Linked DNA regions of Homo sapiens: regions 2, 3, 4, 5 and 6 are each linked to region 1. The links are contacts of gene promoters, found by promoter capture Hi-C in blood cells and fetal thymus (Javierre and others, 2016). All regions are on one chromosome and are shown on one strand. Each heading gives the region's core, a stretch centred on a gene start or on the middle of the fragment in contact. The rest is flanking DNA. Distances are from core to core; before and after follow the strand shown.

Region 1 (3,337 bases), core at 538-3,037:
AAAAAGTAAAAGATCAAACCTTAATTGATTACTTATTTTGGGGTGCACATGGCACTAAATTGCAAGTGGGGATGGAAGGGCGCAAATATCTTAGGAGGGAGGACATCTTGACCCAAATAGACAGATTCCACTACAGTTCTATGAAAAAATCACATGTACATTACTTAGTAGGGTTAGCAAAGTCTAACTAATTTATAATACTGGGAAAACAAAGTAGCTTTATCACAGAGTCTGAACTGAGATAATTATAAAATACATACCTAGTCTATACATTGCTTGTAGAAGATTCTCAGTAAAATCTTTCTGATAGAATAAAAATTAAACGCTATCAGTTTCAACATAACAGAAAATTTAAGCTGCGAATGCTCGTAAAGAAATTAGGTAAAAATAATGGAGAACAAAACCCGCAATCGGCTTATCAATCGGCTTACTGTTGACACGCCACGCCACTCAGAATAGTATCTAATTTTCTTGATCCCTTATCTCAGGTAAAGCTATTGACTCGGGGAAATAGGTTATGCGGAAACCATGAAAGTTTCTAGTCTGGCCGACCCTAGGTTCAACACTCTATTATTCCAGACAAGCGATGAGCTCCTGTCGCTAAATTTCAACATCCCTGTCTGTCAAATGGGAATAATAATGATTCTCTCATTGGGTGGCTGTGAGAGGTGAGTGAAACAAGACGGAAATTTGACCCAGGAAATATCTGTACCTCTTACTTTAAAGAACAGAATTAAAAAATAATAATAAATGATCAGAAATTAAGGTAGAATAGAGTGAACACTAATAGCGGGAAATAGCTAATTTGCAGGTGAGGTGGCTGAAAGGCTCCTACGCTTGAAGTGTTTGCTGGATGCACAGGAGATCTGGGATACATCCCGAACTCGGCAACAGGACCAGCTCCTTTCCTCAGGGTTACAGAACAGCCAGGTTCCAGTTCAGGTCTGGGAATCTACCCATCCAGAGTTTGCGCCCTTTTCGTTTTGCAATTTAAAACCGGGTTGGAGGGGGAAGGAGTGAAGGCAGCATGCGGAGAAAGTAAATTACAGTTCAGGTGACAGGAACAAGAAAATCTCCAAGGTCAGGGTGGGGTGTCAACGAATTATGCAAAACACTGCGGAATGAGGAGTCACAAACGCCTTGCAAAGAATTCTGAATTTTAGAAGCTCTTTGCAGAACCCCCTTCAGCCCGCTCCAAGCTGCCTTGGGTCCCTTTCTAGGCTGTCAGACTTCGCCTTCCTTTCCTCCTTGTTTTTCCCAGCAACCAAAGCATCTGAAGAACATTTTTTTCCTCCGTAAATCTGAACAAATTTCCTTGCAGCTTTCCTTGCAGAAGCTTTTTTATCGCTTTAACAAAACTTTCCTCTGCTTCTCTAGGGAGAGCCTAGTATTAGAGCTGCCCGACAGGCGGGACCCCGAAATCGGGGCAGCTCTGGCTTAGTCCAGGCTATTCGAGTGGGCGCCTGAACTGGAGGCGCCGTCTCCACCGGGATGGGGATCCTAGTGCAGGCAGACGCCTGGCAGGACTCGGCGAGCTGGGGTCCCCACCGCGGTAGCCAGAGCAGAAACCCGAACCCCAGCCAGAGGGGCCGCGCGCGGGGAGGGGTGCGCGCTAAGCCAGCGTGGCTTCCGCAGGAGCTATTTTTAGCGGTGCGTGCCTCCCCCCGCCCCCGGCGTGGTAGCCTCCGGCTCGCGGCGCCCCACGGCTCCTCTCAGTCTCCCCCGCCGCTGCCGGCTCTTGGTAGCTTCCACGCGGGCAGGTCCGGAAACTGAGCATGTCTGCAAGCGCTCAGCGGCGCCGGCAGCAGCGGGGCTAGAGCTGGGCTGCGTCAGGCTGAGCCCATTCACCTCGCGGCCACAGGAGCTCAGCGCCGGCGCCGCGCCGCCCAGCCCCGCCGAGAGGGGCGCACTCGCCGCCGCGGGGCCCGCCGCCGCTCACCGCAGCCCCCTCCTGGCGACCCGCAAGTAAGTTTGTGAGGCTGCTGGGCGTTAGGGCGAGGGCTTGGCGCCCGGGGGAGTCCAGGAGGGATAGCGAGAGGCGCGGCTGGCGCCCGGGAGAGCCGGCTGGCCTCTGCCCCCTGTGCCTGGCGCCTCTCCGAGCCACTTAGCCAATTTGAAAGCGGGTGGCCATTGGGATGCTCGAGCGGGGACGACGGGCAGAGCAGGAGGGCAGAACTAGCTCCAGCGGGGGCCCAGAGGGCGGACTTGGGAAGAAGGAAAGACCGCGCGGCGAGGGAGGAGACCGGGCGGCGAGGGAGGAGACCGGGCGGGGAGGCTGGGTTTGGGGCGCGGGAGCCCGGCCAGGGACAGCCGCAGAAGGAAAGTGGGGGTGTCGCCGGGGGATAGAGTGGGAGCAGCGTGAGAGCAGTGTTGGGGGCGCAGAGTGGAGGGCAAGCGTGTCTTGAACAGAACGGCAGGAGGATGGGTGGAAAGTGGGGCGCGTGGAAAGCGGATTTGGACGAGAGCAAAGGACGCCGGTGGAAGGGACAGTGGGCTCCGGAGGGGCGAGTGGATTCGGATAATTTGGGGAATCAGTAAAAGGCTAGGGGGCACATCATGATGGAGTCAGCCTGGAATCTGTCTCCCGCTAGAGTACCCGAGGCCACATGTTGGGAACTGGCTGGGGAAAGGATGGATGTAGAAAGTGGCCTGGAGGGCCGACTGGAAAATCGCTGAGGGATTTGGGTGAAGAGGGGGGGAGCTGTGCAGTATCGGGCGGAGGAACTGGGCTGCTGGTAGGGCCTGAAAGGTTCAGGAGAGGGTTGGAGGCTTCCCCGTGCCGCCCCTTGAATAGTGATTTAGTACTGTTATCTGAGGTTCACTTTCACCCCTGGCTCCTCCTCCGTCTACTACCCGGCTTGGACGCACCTCGGCTCGCTGTAGGCGAGCTTTAGGAGATTTAAATAGACATTAGGCAGTGGGGAAGGTAGTCGTTTACGGGGGGAGCTGCTCGGGCTTCCGTTCAGTGGTTCCCGGCACGCTCAGGGTGCAGTGTAGGGTCTGAATGTGTGTATTGCGGGGGTAGGGGGAGTGGTGTCAGTTCTAGGCCACAGGAATTCGTGGTCTGGCCCCAGAGGTGCGGTGTTTTTGGCCGGGAAGTCAGGCAGAAGTCTGCAGCGTGCAACTCGCAGCGGGGCGTGTGTGTGCGTGTGTGCGCGCGCGTGTGCATGTTTCCGGCCCGGGGTCGCGTGTGTGGCTGCAGCCTGTCTCCGTGACAAGAAGATCCAGGGATCTACGGGCGGCACGGGGAAGGGATTAAGGGGAACATACTTCCCTACGTCTTTTCTGCCTCCTTTTCCCAGGGTAGCATTCTTTGCTTATCCAATGATGCCTCTTT
Region 2 (3,337 bases), core at 513-3,012, 330 kb before region 1:
TTTTATAAATGATTAAACTATCATTCAAATGATTTTGAATGGCTTTTCCAAAGCCACCCAGTGGGTAAATGACAAAAGTAAGGATTTAAACTCTTTTGTATGATTTTCTTTTTTCTTTTTTTTTTTTCTTTTCTTTTCTTTATAGATAGGGTCTTGCTCTGTTGCCCAAGCTGGAGTGCAGTGGCACAATCTCAGCTCACTGCACCCTCGACCTCCTAGATTCAAGCTATTTCTCCTACCTCAGTCTCCCAAGTAGCTGGGACCACAGGTGTGAGCCACCTGGCCCAGCTGGTTTTATTTTATTTTATTATTTTTTGTAGAGATGGGGTTTTGCCACGTTGTCCAGGCTAGTTTTGAACTCCTGGGCTCAAGCAATTTGCCCGCCATGAACACCCAAAGTGCTGGGATTACAGGTGTGAGCCACCAGTTCTGGCCTCTTTGGTATGAGTTCAAGGCCCATACCCTTTCCACAACTACCATCTAACTTTATATATATATATATATATATATATATATATATATATATATATATATATATATATACATATACATAGATGAAGTCTCGCTCTTGTTGCCCAGGCTGGAGTGCAATGGCGCAATCTCGGCTCAAGCCACTTCTGCCTCCCCGGTTCAAGCAATTATCTTGCCTTAGCCTCCTGAATAGCTGGGATTACAGGTGCCTGCCACCACACCTGGCTAATTTTTGTATTTTTAGTAGAGACGGGGTTTCACCATGTTGGCCAGGCTGGTCTCGAACTCCTGACCTCAGGGGATCTGCCCGCCTCAACCTCCCAAAGTGTTGGGATTAGAGGCATGAGCCACCACACCCAACCTATCTAAATTTTTATAATGTTGAATTGCTTCCAAGTTGAACATGAATATGACAAAGCTCCACTATCTTTCAGTATGCCCTTCTGTGCCCAGCATCAGCTCTAGGAAAAAACTAGTTAGATTAGTTGGCCATTCTACACTTGTTCCTAACATACCTTCCATCTTGCTGCCTACCCCCGTGTCCACACAATTGAGGTTCCCATCTAGTTGCCCACCAGCTTATCTCTACTCCCTTCGTCTTTTCATCCATTGTATATTTCACTTAACTCAAGTCTCCTCTCCACATCCAAATTTGGGGTACTGTGACATTTCAGACAGGGAGAAATTCTTGCACCAAAGGCCTTCTGTTTCCCTATGAGGAGGCTAAATCTGTTGAGCATTATACCTATCATTTCATACATATTTGAACATTAAAACTAATCATCTGTGGGAAATTAAGATTCCTTTTAATAAGGAAACGAAATTTCTGGTAATTCATTAGTTGCCCCAATGTGAAAAACACATCACAATATTTGTTTTAAACTTTCTTGTGTCATCATTTCAGAATTCTATCATTTGGTTTAAATTGTGTTTTGAGCCCATGTGCAATATATTGATATTGGCTAAATTTTTATTATTATCTACACTTTAAAAATGGCCCCCAAAGCTTGCAAACTTTTCTTATGAGAGTCATACTGAGAGGAGAAGACTCAACTTTTTATGCCTATCTTGTACCCTAGATATTTAGATCATTTGTTATCTGTTTTCCCTTGTAAAATATACACTCCATGAGACAGAAATGCTTATGTTTCATTCATGGCAATAAAGTCCAATCCTAAAACAGTGCCTGATACATACGTTTTCAACAAATATTTGTTAAATAAATGAATGTCCCTTGCATCATTTGGCTGTTTCCTAATAAAGCATGGTTTGTTAATATCTTGCCATAATGGCTTTCATCCTCTGGCAGTACATTAGCTTGTCAATCATCTTTTTAAAATGTGGTTACCTTGTTAAAAATGCTGAAGCACATAGAACTGGTTCAAACTTGATGTTAGTTTACCCACGACGTCTCTTCACTAAGAGTTCGTGTTCTGTTTTCATTTAAAATTCTTTTCAAGTATTGGCTGGAATTTGGCCACAAGATGGAGTGGCAGCACAAAGTAGATAGAGTTATTTAAATAGATTTGGCCATCGTTGTTGCAATGAAGTGGCTTGAATGATTATTTTTGTCTTAAAAGCTTGGGGGCATTTTAACTATTTATATTAGTTATCTACTTTAATTTGGTGATCTTTATTTGGTGATCTTCATCCATTGAGAGAAAGAGATGACAACCAAAACCACAAATCCTCTGATCCCAAGAATACACCACTTTATATTTACCTATTGACTTTCTTTACTTACACCTTCATTTTAAAGGATATCTTTTATAGTTTATCACTTGTCATTTTGGTCATGTGTTTAATAACTGGTTAAGCCTCTTAGAGACACTTGAATCAGGAGTCTGGAGATATCGGTAGGGTATATGATCATTTATGTGAAAATCCTACTCCATTTCATCTTATCTCTAATCCCCAATGCTATAGGGTCATCAACTGTCCGTCTCAAAGTCCCAGTAGAACATAATTTGTTCCTGTAGTAATTAAATGAGGACAAAACTCAATATAATGAACACCCGTGCATAAGATAAAATTCATGATTTGGACAGACCTAAAAGAGCCTCTGACTCTTCAATGCACTCGACAGAAATTACTCTGATGTCTTTACTACACTTCAATCAAACCATCGATGGATTTTGTTTACGTCTATGCTGTTTTCATTTTGGCAACTAAACTGTTTGTATCTAATAAAATGAATATAGTCTAGAATTCAGATAAACTTAGCCATCTTCAATTACTAGTTATTTGCTGAAAGCATGTAAATACATATTTTTAGGCCAACTCTTTTTATTTCAAAAGTTTTTATTTCGGCCAGGCGCAGTGGCTCATGCCTGTAATCCCAGCACTTTAGGAGGCCGAGGTGGGTGGATCGCTTGAGGTCAGGAGTTCAAGACCAGCCTGGCCAACATGGCAAAACCCCGTCTCTACTAAAACACAAAAATTAGCTGGGTGTGGTGGCACACGCCTGTAATCCCAGCTACTCAGGAGGCTGAGGCAGGAGAATCACTTGAACTTGGGAGGTGGAGGTTGCAGTGAGCTGAGATCATACCACTGCACTCCAGCCTGGGCAATAGAGCCAGACTCTGTCTCAAAAAAAAAAAAAAAAAAAATTCTTTATTTTAAAATGAGAAAAATTTCTTAGGTGTAAACAGATTACCACAATTTTTGATTTGTCCAACAAAATAAAGAATTAATATTTATTAAGTATTATATAAACACTGTCAATATAACTTAGCTTCAGCATAAAATAACAAAATGTACGATCTTAAAAATAAAAAAGAATTTTTTCACCGTGCTCTTCTAATCTTCACTCTAAAAGAAGCTTATAAAAGGAGAAATAAAAAGACTTGAATTTGTTTTAATTTTT
Region 3 (3,337 bases), core at 246-2,745, 310 kb after region 1:
CTAGTTCTTCAATTCAGTGAGTTTTGGGGTAGTAATGATTGGTTTCAAGTCCAAAAAGTTTCACTGGTCTCATGGCAGCAGAGCAAATGCTTTTATCATCCTAGGCTCACAGCAGAAGCATGTGCATTCTGATTGACCACACACTTCCCGCCAGCTGCATAAAATCACTATTCATGATTTAGATTGGAAAGCATACTGATGGCCAGCATTTTCTTCCTGTGTATGATTGACTGGCAGCTGTGACTCTAAATGCACAGAACTATAGGCATGAGAATAATTTCAACAAGTATCCTTTAAAGCATTATGTCTTTTTTAAACCATCTTAGCCATCTTTAAGTGTATGGTTCAGTAGTGTGAAGAATATTCACATAATAGTAAAAGCCATCTCCAGAACTGTTTTGGTTTTGTGAATCTGAAACTCTATACCCATTAAATCACAACTCTCCTTTTCCCCTCCCTCAATTCTTTTGTTTCTATGAATTTGACCACTTTCTATACCTAAGAAAAGTAGAATCTTACATAGTTATCTTCTTGTGACTAGCTTATTTCACTTTGCCTAATATCCTCAAGGTTCATCCATGTTGTAGTACATGACAGGGTTTTCTTTCTATGACTGAATAATATTTCATTGTACATATATACCACATTTGTATATCTATTCATTCATTGGTGGACAAGTAGTTTGATGCCACTTCTTGGCAATAGTGAATAGTGCTGCTGTGAACATAAATATGCAGATATCTTATAGAAACCTTGCTTTCAATTGTTTGGAATTCATACCAAGAACTGAGATTATCGGATCCTATGGTATTTATTTATTTTTTTAATTTTTTGAGGAAACTCCATACTGTTTCCTATTGTGGTAGCATTATTTTACATCCTACCAATAGTACATGGCAGTTCCAATTTCTCCACATTCTCACCAACACTTGCTATTGTCTGTAAAACATTATATCTTTTTCTTTTTTTAATGATGCAATATAATTTTTATTTCAAGAAATATGTGACTTAAGCTAATATTTTGTGAGCAAAAATGCAGGGCCAATATATTTAAATATTATCCAGCCTTTCAAGTGTGTTCACTTTCAGAAGCTAAATATTTTCCTGAACATTCCTTAAGTAAATGAATGACTTGCTCTTTTGAACCTAAAACACATGCTTGTTTCCTCATTCTTGTGGCTACCACTGTCTTACCCAGCACTAAAAGCTTCTTAAAATTAGTCAGAGGAAGACAAGTGGGAAGGTGTAGACTTCTCACTTCAATAGTCTGCTAAAGATGGAGGAAAAATATGGTGCTATTCAAAGACAGTCTAGACTTAAAGATTTAGAATTTTGGATGGAAATAATCCGGTGAAATAGCAAGAACATTTGAAAGAGAACTTGACAAACCACTGCTGCAGAAAGCTGAATTCCAAGGAAATATGCCCAATATCCATGAAGCTGAGAAGTAAGTTTCTGAAATCATGCCTTTCTATTTTTTTTTAATTTTTCATTTGCCTAAAAAATGTCAACCACTTGTTGAGGCAAGCGGAGTCTTGCTACTGGAATGTATAAATTAACCAAATAGAGTATTATGCAAATAATAGTAGATTCGGATATTTGTTTAGTGGCCCTTTTATGGAGTATTAGAAATTGCCAACTTTTGACTTTGAGAAAAGAATATGTGTGTTGTCAGTAATATTTTGATTCTGTGTTTTTTTTTTAAAAAAAACCTTTTAAACATTTGTCTTATTTCTATTAATGTCACTTGATTTTTCTGGTTTCCAATTCCTGTTTCATTCATAGAAGCTTCTAGAAGTAAATGTCTTTTTTCATTTTAAACATGAACGCAGATGAATAAAATGAACTTCTAATACATTTAATGTCACACTTGAGACAACCATATTGAGATTCTTAAAAAATTGCTTGTATGGAGAAAAGAAGATTATCATTTTCAGGGCCAGGCACAATGGCTCACACCTATAATCCCAACTCTTTGGAAGGCCAAGGCAGACAGATCATCTGAGGTCAGGAGTTCAAGACCAGCCTGACCAACATGGAGAAACCCTGTCTCTATTAAAAATACAAAAATTAGCTGAGTGTGGTGGCAGGTGCTTGTAATCCCAGCTACTAGGGAGGCTGAGACAGGAGAATCGCTTGAACGTGGGAGGTGGAGGTTGCAGTAAACTGAGGTCGCACCACTGCACCACAGCCTGGGCAACAGAATGAGACTCTGTCTCAAAAAAAAAAAAAAAAAAAAACCTAAAAAACAACAACAACAAAAAGAAAATTATCATTTTCTAGCCAGTGACTAGTAAATTTTCTAAACCTATCAGATAATTTATAACAATAATGGATTTAAAAAACAAGCAAGACAGATTTTTTTCTATTGACATATATATATATATATATATATATATGAAGGAACATATATATATATATGAAGGTAAATACTGATCAAAATTCAAAATCCAGGGCAGCTCACTTGGAGAGAAATAAAAATAACAAAGACCTATTAGGTAAAACAAGATTATTTGGAACTATAGGAGTAAGAGTTAAGAATAAACTAAAAACAAAGCACTTGTTCTTTGTGGCAGCTGAAAATAGCAAACCTGGGGACAACAAGGTTTTTCTTCCCATATTCTCTATGCTGGTTAGCTGGCATGATGACTAAAACAGAATTGTGCCTGCCATTGTAGAGCTTACAATTATTTCTTCTTGGTGGTAGTATTCCACAATGGAGAGCGTTAAATAAAAGTAGGCAGTCTTTTACAACATTTTAATTTAGTCTTTGTTAATGTTAAAGAGACAAATTCCTTATTGAGTTTCTGAGCAAAGCTTAATAATAATGAAGTTAGAGGAAAAACACCCACCACATTTTATAAAGTAGTGAAAAAAGCTTATTAAGCCACAGAAGTGTTGTTTTTCCTCTTTTTAGAAAATAACCACTAAAGCTTATCACTTGACAAGCAGGCTTATTTTACAAAGAACTTACTAATTTATAAAATAATAAGACTTTGGAGAAGCATCTTCCTTATCAATTGTCTTATACGTTTCAGGGACATGATGGACCAAACCAATGTCACAGTCTCTTGGCACCACTTTTAGGATATGAATATATTTGGCACCCTCCCCACAGTGTTCAGCCTTGGGGTTCTCAGCCAAAACTAAAACAAAGTTCCATTTCCATTGCTTCTCTACTTCTATGACATAATGTGGTTATGCTATTTTAAACTTATTCCTATTGATTAAGTTTTTAGTTGTTAGGAGGGAGTTTTTTTTGAAAAAGACTAAAATTATTTGTGTCTAAATATATAACTTTCATAAACAGAGTATGAATTAGAAAGTATAGTTTTTC
Region 4 (3,337 bases), core at 449-2,948, 290 kb after region 1:
GGCCTGGGGTAGCCAAAATGAGGAGCAACTGCTTAATGGATATGATACTTCCTTTTTGGTGATGAAAATATTTTGGAACTGGATAGAGGTGGTGGTTGCACAATGTTACAAATGCACTAAATTCCACTGAAGTGTCCACTTTACAATAATTTTATGTTATGCACATTTTGCCTTACTAATAATAATTTTTAAAAGTTCCTTATGATGTCATCAGAGAGAGATGTGGGACAGTAAGTGGGTACTTGAGATTGGGCCATCAAGGAAAGCATCTCCAAGGAAATTGCTTTTAATTTAAGACCTAAATGATAAGAAGCCAGTCATGTAAACATCAAGAAGTAGAGAATCCCAAATGAATCCTGCCTCTGCCTTTATTGTGTGTGTGTGAGCTGGGTGGAATACTTAATATCTCTCAGCCTCATTTGCTTCATCTGGGAAACAGGATTATAGAAAGATCTAATTCACAAATTGTTCTAATTAAATGAGATCATGCACAGAAAGATGAGCTTAGTAGGAAGTCATATGTCCTTAAGAATCAAAAGGCAAAAAAGGAATTGAAAACTCACTCCAGCAAAAGCTGATCAGAAGCCCCTTGTTATGCAAGATGACCAGCTAATGCCAAGTCTGTTTTACATAATCTTTCCTCACTGATTATGTAATGATTCTGCTGGTGTTGCTTCACAGTCACTTTTCTGTGTATATGTTTCACCACTAAATGTTCTTTCTAACTCACTGTGTTTCCTAACAGCTAGTCTGAGCTTTCCTCCCATAGCTTTGAGCCGTGGCTTCTTGCTCTCATCATCCAAGACTGAGCAATTCCCTTCCCTCATTAATTTTGTAACCTTGAAGATATTTACGCAGTTTGAACAAATACTCACCTGCAGTTTTCTTTTTTCCCCAAACTCTTATATGAATCTAATTCTTTCTTTTTCTTCTCACACATAATATACAAACTCAAATTCCTTTCTCCCTTTGTGTTTGCTCTAATTGTGGTTAATAAAACATTTCCTACATTGAGCCCTTCCAATTAATTAAGATTATTTTCCTGTTCTAATTGAGGAAATATACCTGAAAAGCTGATCAACAGGATTTAAAGACATCTTTCCACTTTATTGGTACTTAAAACCATTTTCATTTCTTGCTATTCTTTTTAAGGTAAGCTGAAGCATAGGAAATAATTCCATACATAGCTGTAAGGTAATGTTCAGGTTAAAATGAAATTTTAATTATGTAAATCATATAGTTTGGGGTTATGTTATTCATAGAGTTCTAGACTAAAGTTTTTCCTCAATAATGTTGGTGATTGACAGGCAACTCAGGTGAGTAGCATTTCCTAAGCTTGTATATCTGAGCTACAAAATTCTATACCCATAAATTAGCAGAAAGCATGGTAAAACTACTGTTTTTTAGAATTCTACTTTTTTTTTTTTAAATTAGGAATAACTTTACTGCAAGGCAACTCAATTTTTTTTTCCTAGATTCCACATGTTGAATTCATCACATAGGATACTCTGGCAACAAAAAGGAATATTGGGACTTAGCATTTATTCGCTCTCTCTGCAGGCACCTAATGATGAATTTAGCTAAAATGCTGCAAGAACAAGCCCTTACAGTTGTACATAAAATCTGCTGTCCTATGCAGGGTTAAAGGCCACACATGTTGGTAACAGAATTTTTCTCTCAGAAGTGGGTTCTTTGTTGAGACTTGCCTTGTTCCTTTTGTTTTTATTTTTAAGAAGAGACTTCCATCTCAATAAAGAAGGAAAAATCAATAAGTGATAATTTAAACATAACTCAGAAACTGAATTGAAAACTGAAGATATATGAGCAAAGCAAAGTATATTACATTTTACTGTGATTGTTAATCTCTATGATTTGAAGTCAGACTGGCTTTGAACTTCCGCTTTACCACTGAGTAGATTTTTTTAACTTGGAAGAAGTCATTTTATCTCTCTAAACTTCCATTTCACCATGTACAGAGTGGGCGTAACAATCATGGCTTCACAGAGTTACTGTGAGAATCACATGAGTAATGAACTCCTAATTCTAGGACATATGCATAGGAAAAGCTTCCCTCTTGAAGAGGCTACTCTGGGGAGTAAAAGCACATAGCCTTTTCGTATTGCTATGTACCAAAGCAGCCCAAAAGCCAGCAGCTTAAAACAACAACCATTTATCAAACTCAGAATTCTATGAGCTGGCAATTCCAAAGCCACTGCCCTGGTACAGAATCACCACCCTGGATTCCCCCTGCCAGGTGATTGACAGTCCTCTAGTTCCTAGATAATCAGGTGGCCTGGTAGGCCAAATGGAGGATCCGGGACAGCAAGGGAGAGGGCCATTGGAAGGCTAAGGCAGCAGCTATATATTAGCCAGTACAAAGTATTCTGATACACAATGGTTAAATGTTGGCTATGTTAGCCCTGTCCCATTCATATTACAATCCTTTTCCTGTCCAGGTTGCCCCAAGCATCTTGATATCTTATTAATATACCCATAAAATAGCAGAAATCACAGTAAAACTACTGTTTTGTGGAATTCTACTTTTTTTATTAGGAACAACCTTATTGCAAGACAACCGAAAATCTTTTCCAAAATCATAAGATGATGAATTCAACAAGTGAGATGAATCACATAGGATGTGAGGGCCCAATTAGCATTGGTATTCCCTATATCTTCACAACAAGTATACTGCTTATATCCATGTGTCTGTCCATCCCTCCTACCCTAAATGCCAATAAACCCACATCAAGAACAAGCACACATTATATACATACTTCTTGGAAATAGGGCAACAATTCTTAGGAGAAAAGGTGGTAGTGATGGTGTCTTTTCCTGAGAATTTTCCAAATCTTTAAGTTGGCTTCCCTTTTGATTATAAATTTCACCTTTAATTCATTTTTATTTTCTTGCATTTTTCTATAATCAGTGAAGAGAAACCATGCCACGCTCTCAACACTTTACTTAGATATTTATTCTCTGAAATACCCCATTTAATCACTCAGAAGTTCTATCCTCCACAAAACACTGGGACACGAACACAATTCAGCCAGGTTCTTTGTCACTTTATAACAAGGATGGACTTTCCTCCAGCTTCCAGTAGCATGTTCCTCATTTCCATCTGAGATTTCATCAGAATGGCATGTACTGTCCATATTTCTAACAACATTCTGATCACAGTCACACAGGTAATCTCTAAGAAGATTGAGGCTTTCTCTACAGCTCTCCTCTTCTTCTAAGCCCTCAACAAAATCATCCTTACAACTATTTTCCTGGTAATGTACATAAAAATCTCTTCCAGCCTTTATCCATTAGTCAGTTCCAAAGTTGCTTCCATATT
Region 5 (3,337 bases), core at 312-2,811, 260 kb before region 1:
ATGAATGGGGCACTAAACACGCTTTAGATTTCAGAAGTAACTCATGGAAAAAGGAAATGTTTACAGCCTGTTAGCATTCTCATTTACCATTTCAGTTACTTGGAAGTAAAACTTAACGTTAATGTTAATCTGAAATATTAATATTAAGAATGGGTACTTTAAAAGGAAGATAGCCCCTCAAAATAAAAGAAAGATGAAAAACATTAAGTACATGTTTCATCAATTTAAAAAACTTTTTCACACGTTAGTACTGCAGAAATTAAGATGCATCTTCTCATCAATAATGTGTCATAGTATAATTGGAAGCATTTTTTTCTTTCTTGGTGGTACAAGAAAAACTGTTCATCTTAAAATGAATGGTTTTTAGATTCAATGAAATATGTTATCTGGTTTCTGCCTCTCTGCTGAAACGGAATGAATATGTTTTCCCTACTTATGTTGCCTTTACCTCCTTTTTCTTGCTTTTAAAATGTATTTTAAAGAGTCTCCTGCTTTTCCCTAATATTTTCATGGTGATGGTTCAAGCTTTGTGTGTGTACGTACATGACTATTTTGCATATATTATGTATATATACAATTCTTTAGCTAGACAAATTATGGAATACACTGAAAGTAAGGAATTTGAAGTTATTATATTGGGGGGGAGAAGACAATAGAGACCTCATATAAGGTTGGGAAACTCATGCAGTAGTGAGATAGTCATGTTTTAGCAATAGCTTGTTGCACAATGACTTGGAGACATTTGCTTTGACATTGACAATGACACAAACATACACATTAAAAACATTCTAGGATATTATAATAATGCCAATTTCCCTAAACTAAACCTTTCTGCCTAAATCTTATTTTTATAATATCAAGTGATATATACTTTTTCTATACCATTGCAGTAAGCAATTATTTTTCTTATTTATTGTTACAACTTGGTGGCTTCGTTTTTGTATGTGTGTCACTTGTATTTCAAAATTATATGCAAATGCTATTGAAATAGAATAAGTCATAGAGAATTATGCTGTATTCTTCTTTTCTTTTCTTTTCTTTTTTTGAGACGGAGTCTCGCTGTCACCAAGGCTGGAGTGCAGTGGCGCGATCTCGGCTCACTGCAGGCTCCGCCCCTCGGGCTTCACGCCATTCTCCTGCCTCAGCCTCCCGAGTAGCTGGGACTACAAGCGCCCGCCACCTCGCCCGGATAATTTTTTTGTATTTTTAGTAGAGCCGGGGTTTCACTGTGTTAGCCAGGATGGTCTCGATCTCCTGACCTCGTGATCCGCCCGCCTCGGCCTCCCAAAGTGCTGTGATTACAGGCGTGAGCCACCGCGCCCGGCCTGCTGTATTTTTCTCTTGTAATTTCTCACTTTTCCTGATACAGTTCAAATAATGTTATTTAAAGGACTGATTAACTGGGAGCATTCATCTCCTCAGCCTGCTTGTAAATAATATAAAAATGCATAATATAAAAATGCACATTTTAGGTAATGAAAATAGATGTACAATATTTTAGGTGTTACTTTCATAATCACATTCTAGCTATTATTGCATGCCTTGACTGAGGTTCAATACAGAATCATCAGCCACTTTCTTATAGAAGAAATAAGTCAATAAGTAACATTATGAAGTTGAACAAATGTGAATAAAGCAGCATTGGTGCATCTAACTTACACTTTATTATTTGGACTAAATTAGGTGAAGTCTATAAAATTTACATTTCTTACTGTGGTAATAGTTTGCAGTTATTCCTTTCTTGGTGCTTCTGATAGTTTATTTTGCGGAACAAACATAACTCTGTTGAATATTGTAACAGATATTCCATATACTTCTTCAAAATGGTCTTCTATTGTCTTTACTCACACTAAAATTACAGTATAGAATTTTTAAATGTGAATATAAATAATTACCCAGTAATTGTCAGATGTATATATATTAAACACATGTATATGTGATCTGTATACACAAACACACACACAAACCATTCATATTTCATGTTGTTCTCATCAAAATTTACAAAGCGGCAATTCACCTGTGTTGAAATCTTAGCAATGGGAATGTTGTTAGTTAAAATTTTAAATCTTCTAGCCTTGTCTTTCCCATTTGACAGTGGTAAGCATAGAGTGTACTGAACTGTATAGACCAGTACAAATCTTCTGAGTCTTTGGGGACTCTTTCTGGCCTGAAATAAAAATGTTTTAGACACAAATGATTCAGCCAGGAATAAACCTCTGCTCCTGAACTTCAATGTCTCATTAATTCTTGAACATTTCAAGGTTTTTAACATCCAAACTCAATAAAAAAGCTGTTATTTTCTGTTATTTTCAGGTCAAGACATAAATGATAATACTAGTTCCAAAGAGCTTTCCAATTTGAAACTATTTATAGTTCAAATTTTTATTTTCATAAGAAATTCTGAATTTCAAATTGCATGATAAATTCACAGGTAATATCTGCTTCACAGATAAGTCATAATACGAGAGGGTTCAGCTTATTGGATGTGATCTTAGCAACTCAGACTGCCTAACACTAAAGCAAACAAAATATGGTTGCAAAATTTGATCCAAAATAAGACGCTTATACAGCTCAAAACATAGTATTCAATGTCAGAGCAAGCTTGGCTCTGGTCTGGCAATTATCAATTTTTGAAATGTATGAGGACAGATAAGGTTACTCCAGTGCTGTAAGTAACAGTCAGCAAGAAGTTCACGTCTAGGAGACTAGGAGTACTTAGAGCTAGGTAAGTTAATGACCGCATTGTAAAGTGTGACAATCTGCTCATTCACTACACAACTCCAGTCTTTGGCTGTGAAGTGTCATCCTTCATACCTTCACTGGCTGAAATGATCCATTCCTCTAGGAGGACACTGACAAGAATTAGGCCATATCAGTCCTAATATCAGATCCTTATTCAAATAGGTTAATACTTAAGCAATCCTCTAGTCCTGGAGGAGACTATGTTAGGGAAAGAAAATGAGTTCTCAAGACTAAGTAGGTATTTCAGGATACCAAAATGCTCAGGTGCTAAGCCCTAATCTCTTGGGAGCCGGAGTTACTGGAAGGCCTTGGAACAAAAGCACATAGTAGCTTAACCAAATGTGGCTTAGTTTTTATGCTTCACATGAAGTTAGGAAGTACATAGTCCAGGCTTGGTGCATCTGCTCACGTGTGCCCTCAAAAATTCAGTTGCCTTCCATCTTTCTAATCTGCCGTTCCCAAAGTGGATCTTTTCTCCTCATGGTCACAAAATGCCTGCCTATTCTATCCATATTCCTGGCAGGATGACTGGCTTTTTTATTCATGAACAAAAAGCCATCTCCAATATTTTATTATCTGTACTTCAAATATGGCT
Region 6 (3,337 bases), core at 457-2,956, 260 kb after region 1:
AGTCTCTGGAAGTTAAATGACTTATTCATGGTCCTACTGTAAATAGTTTCAAAGCCAAGGGAACAATCTAAGTAAAATGGCCAGTGGTAAAGAGCTCATCCTCTACATTGATTTTCAGATCAAATTCTCTTTTCAAAAACAAAAATGAAATTAGATCATTGATGGAGATCTCATTGAGTGGTTCCCCAAGTGCTAGTCTATACCATTGATGGTGAAAACGATGCAATAATAAAAGAACAGTAGTTTTTCATAAGACGATACTTAGTTGAAGTGACTGTCCTTTCCATTTTTTCTTTCTTTTTTCCTCTTTTGTCCCCTCCCTCTTTCCTTTCTTTCTCCCTTCTGCTCTTTCTTCCACCCTGTTTCCTCTCTTTTTCCTTCTTTCCTTCCCTCCTTGTGTTAAAATGAATGGTCTTTTGTGAAATGACTGCTTAGTTATGGTATCAGTTTAGGATATTTGTTTAAGTCTGTTCTTTTAAAATTATTTTACTTGTCAAAATATTAAGTTGGGAAATGGTCCCTAAAATATTCTCTTAAAATTGTGATGGTCTGTGAAATTGCAAATTCTAAAATCCAATGCAATGATCCTGTCTTTTGCCCTGCTTGCAGGATAGAATACCTTCAACATTCCAAACTTAACGATGCACAGTTAAATACAAATTTGTATCTTACTAACCCCAGGCTGCTTACATATTGAAAAGAGAGCCTATGGAATTAGGGGTTCCCTGGGAATTCTTCTCAGTAGTAGGCAAAATTAAAACAGTAATAACTAGTTTGGAAGCTCTGAAGAGAAAAGCAAGACACATATTTAACTGCTTTTTAATTGCAGTACACCAGACACTTTAAAATATCATCACATAACTTGTACGCCTCTCATTTAATAAAAAAGATAACCCTAAAGTAACAATACTATAACAGGAGGTTAAAAAATAAAAGGAAAAAACTAATCTTGCTAGAGGTGGCACATTCTGCAGTGTGAAACTAGGTCACCACTGACCTGGAACGTTCTCTCCAAGTTAGAAGATTCTTCATGGAAAAGCAGGAAGTCTCTGTGATTTAATCAACAGAACTATCTTGGCATGCAGGTCACTGTCTATAAGCACAGAAACTAAAACACATAGCTGCTCTGAGGATTCCAATTAAATTAAATTCTTGAGAACTATGACTTTGTTTGAATTGAAATTTGTTTTGACAGTTTGATGGCTTTTTACATTTTCTGGATCACAAAAATTTTTAGGGAAAATTATTTCATTTGCTGAGGTTTCTTGTTACACATGGAAGCTAAAAGTCCCTAAGTGGACCTGGGCATTTCACAGCTTTTGAAGAGTGGTTCAAAGTTTGTGTAAGTAGCCAATATGGAATTTTTTTTTATCAAGATAGTGGAATTTGAGGATATCAAGATTTCAAGTTTAGTTTTTTGGTTCATTTGTGGATTAATAAGACCATGGGATTCAATATATGTTTCTGACAGTCTACATCTCCATGTGCATGTTTGTTGGGGGCGATATTTGATTGGGATTTTATTTTACAACATTTTTCATTTATTTCATTTAATATCTACTTTAAAACATGAGATTAAGGAAATCCCACAAGCTGAAACTACTTTCAACTCTAAAATTAATATGAAAGCTTTATTTCTTTCAAGATAAATTAGATTTTTTTTAACCAATCATTTATGTAATTTTAACTAAAATTTACCAAGGAACCGGAGGTATTCTCAGAATGAGAAAAAATATGTTTGCTTGATATTCCTATAAATTTGTAGTGCCTATAATTTGTTAAATAAGCTTGCCAACTCTAGTTTTATAGCATTAGTACCTTATTTTATAGATTTGCTTTATTCTTTTTTGCCCTGATTCTGTGATTGTTCTCTGTCAGAAGTAATCAACCCAGAATCAAGAAACACAGCTTAATCATGGCCATGATAAACAGATTAAGAAATGTCAGTAACCCTGAGGTCTCCTTGAGCAAATGGTTTTGGTATTATGTCTGAGCTACAGCCTAATAGTCTTATAACTTATTCAAAAACAAATTATATCTGTCAATTTATTTAATGATTTCTAAACTGCCCAATTAAACCTATACTGGTTTAATTTATGGAATAATTAAAATGGACATTGTTCATGGTTGAGAAATAAGCATGATCCTGTTTGAAATTTCCTAAATCACTATTAAAATTAGTCTTTCACTGCTGTTAGCAAACAAAACTTGCCCTTTTAACCTGCTAACACGTCTATGAACATCCCATTTCACTGAATAATGGTGAGGGGAAGAAAATGACAAATTATTAAGCAAGACCTACTCTATTTTAAACATTTATAGATAGAACTAATGGCGATTTGAACAGTGAAGTAATATGTCTACATTTCCCAATGTTTTCATTTTTTTAGGAGTATGAATTTAAAGAGCTTCTAGGATCTTGCTCACATTCAGAAATGAAACTATTGGTATCTCCTGATTTTTTTTAATTTGCTTTTCTTCCCACGTTGTACCTAAGGATATATATTTTCTTATTTGTTTTTTCTTCTTTTATGAGATGAAGTCTCAGTGTCATCCAGGTTGGAGAGCAGTGGTACGATCATAGCTCACTACAGCCTTGAATTCCTGGGCGCAAGTCAGCCTTCTGCCTCCAGGGTAGCTGGGATTACAGGTGTGCATAACCGTACCGAGTCAAGATATTTCTTTACATGTAAAAATACTACAGGATTTATGCTGGTCAATGAAATTTTGACCATGTTAACAGTTATGACTGAAAGAATATTACTTATGAGAATGGAAAAATAGGTAAAAACCAGACACAACTGGGGGGAGAATCTTCTATTGCTGTTTCTACCAAAGTTTTGAAACTACTTTTACTATAGTTAAAAACTGTGAATTCAACTGAAGATTATAAATGTTACAGTGACCATTCATGATACATTCCCTATATATTATGTGTACATCTACATAGAAGCAAGCTATTAGTAAACAGCTTTAAAATTCACTAACTGAAATTTTGTGATCATCTGAACAAACTGAGATAAAAAGTCTTTGTGTTAGTACAATATGAAAAAAAAATCTATGTGGGTTTATAACTGAAACATGATTTCAGGACACAGAAGATATTAGGTTCAGCAATTTAGCTTAGAAAACTGCTTTTTGGTAGGGAAAAATATGTACTAAGAGAAATTAATAAGTTGGTTTTAAAGTAAGGTTATTTGTTAGTTTATTTTATGTTACCATATATGTTTGAAAATAATAAAGTGAAATTCCTCCAAAATATTACATGAAAAAGTTTAGTTAATTTAGATTGGTATCTTTTGAGGGAGAAAGCCCATAATGTGTCCTTAATTATGAC

What was found. Contacts are between HindIII fragments. The CHiCAGO score rates a contact against its expected background, and 5 or more counts as called.
Region 2: a fragment that was not itself captured here is called in contact with the fragment with the promoter of OXR1 in region 1 in 1 of 17 cell types (endothelial precursors); the score reaches 6.6 in endothelial precursors.
Region 3: a fragment that was not itself captured here is called in contact with the fragment with the promoter of OXR1 in region 1 in 4 of 17 cell types (endothelial precursors, monocytes, M1 macrophages and 1 more); the score reaches 6.6 in endothelial precursors.
Region 4: a fragment that was not itself captured here is called in contact with the fragment with the promoter of OXR1 in region 1 in 1 of 17 cell types (monocytes); the score reaches 5.1 in monocytes.
Region 5: a contact is called between a fragment that was not itself captured here and the fragment with the promoter of OXR1 in region 1, in 1 of 17 cell types (endothelial precursors). The highest score is 7.6, in endothelial precursors.
Region 6: a contact is called between a fragment that was not itself captured here and the fragment with the promoter of OXR1 in region 1, in 2 of 17 cell types (megakaryocytes and endothelial precursors). The highest score is 9.1, in megakaryocytes.

The regions. Positions count from the first base shown.
Region 1 is chr8:106,268,403-106,271,739 of GRCh38, forward strand. OXR1 (oxidation resistance 1) reads left to right here and starts at 1,788. Exons shown (of 17, transcript NM_001198533.2): 1 at 1,788-1,965. RefSeq lists silencers at 1,513-1,762, 1,783-2,142. The HindIII fragment of the contact is 2,469 bases long and covers 1,335-3,337 here.
Region 2 is chr8:105,938,205-105,941,541 of GRCh38, forward strand. All of the region lies in intron 1 of ZFPM2-AS1 (ZFPM2 antisense RNA 1), which reads right to left. Among named protein-coding and RNA genes, the nearest start is that of ZFPM2-AS1, 120 kb to the right of the region's middle. The HindIII fragment of the contact is 574 bases long and covers 1,476-2,049 here.
Region 3 is chr8:106,579,805-106,583,141 of GRCh38, forward strand. All of the region lies in intron 3 of OXR1 (oxidation resistance 1), which reads left to right. All of the region lies in intron 1 of OXR1-AS1 (OXR1 antisense RNA 1), which reads right to left. Among named protein-coding and RNA genes, the nearest start is that of OXR1-AS1, 76 kb to the right of the region's middle. The HindIII fragment of the contact is 581 bases long and covers 1,206-1,786 here.
Region 4 is chr8:106,556,136-106,559,472 of GRCh38, forward strand. The region is part of intron 3 of OXR1 (oxidation resistance 1); the gene reads left to right. All of the region lies in intron 1 of OXR1-AS1 (OXR1 antisense RNA 1), which reads right to left. Among named protein-coding and RNA genes, the nearest start is that of OXR1-AS1, 100 kb to the right of the region's middle. The HindIII fragment of the contact is 731 bases long and covers 1,334-2,064 here.
Region 5 is chr8:106,005,957-106,009,293 of GRCh38, forward strand. All of the region lies in intron 1 of ZFPM2-AS1 (ZFPM2 antisense RNA 1), which reads right to left. Among named protein-coding and RNA genes, the nearest start is that of ZFPM2-AS1, 53 kb to the right of the region's middle. The HindIII fragment of the contact is 2,076 bases long and covers 524-2,599 here.
Region 6 is chr8:106,527,785-106,531,121 of GRCh38, forward strand. All of the region lies in intron 3 of OXR1 (oxidation resistance 1), which reads left to right. The region is part of intron 1 of OXR1-AS1 (OXR1 antisense RNA 1); the gene reads right to left. Among named protein-coding and RNA genes, the nearest start is that of OXR1-AS1, 130 kb to the right of the region's middle. The HindIII fragment of the contact is 158 bases long and covers 1,628-1,785 here.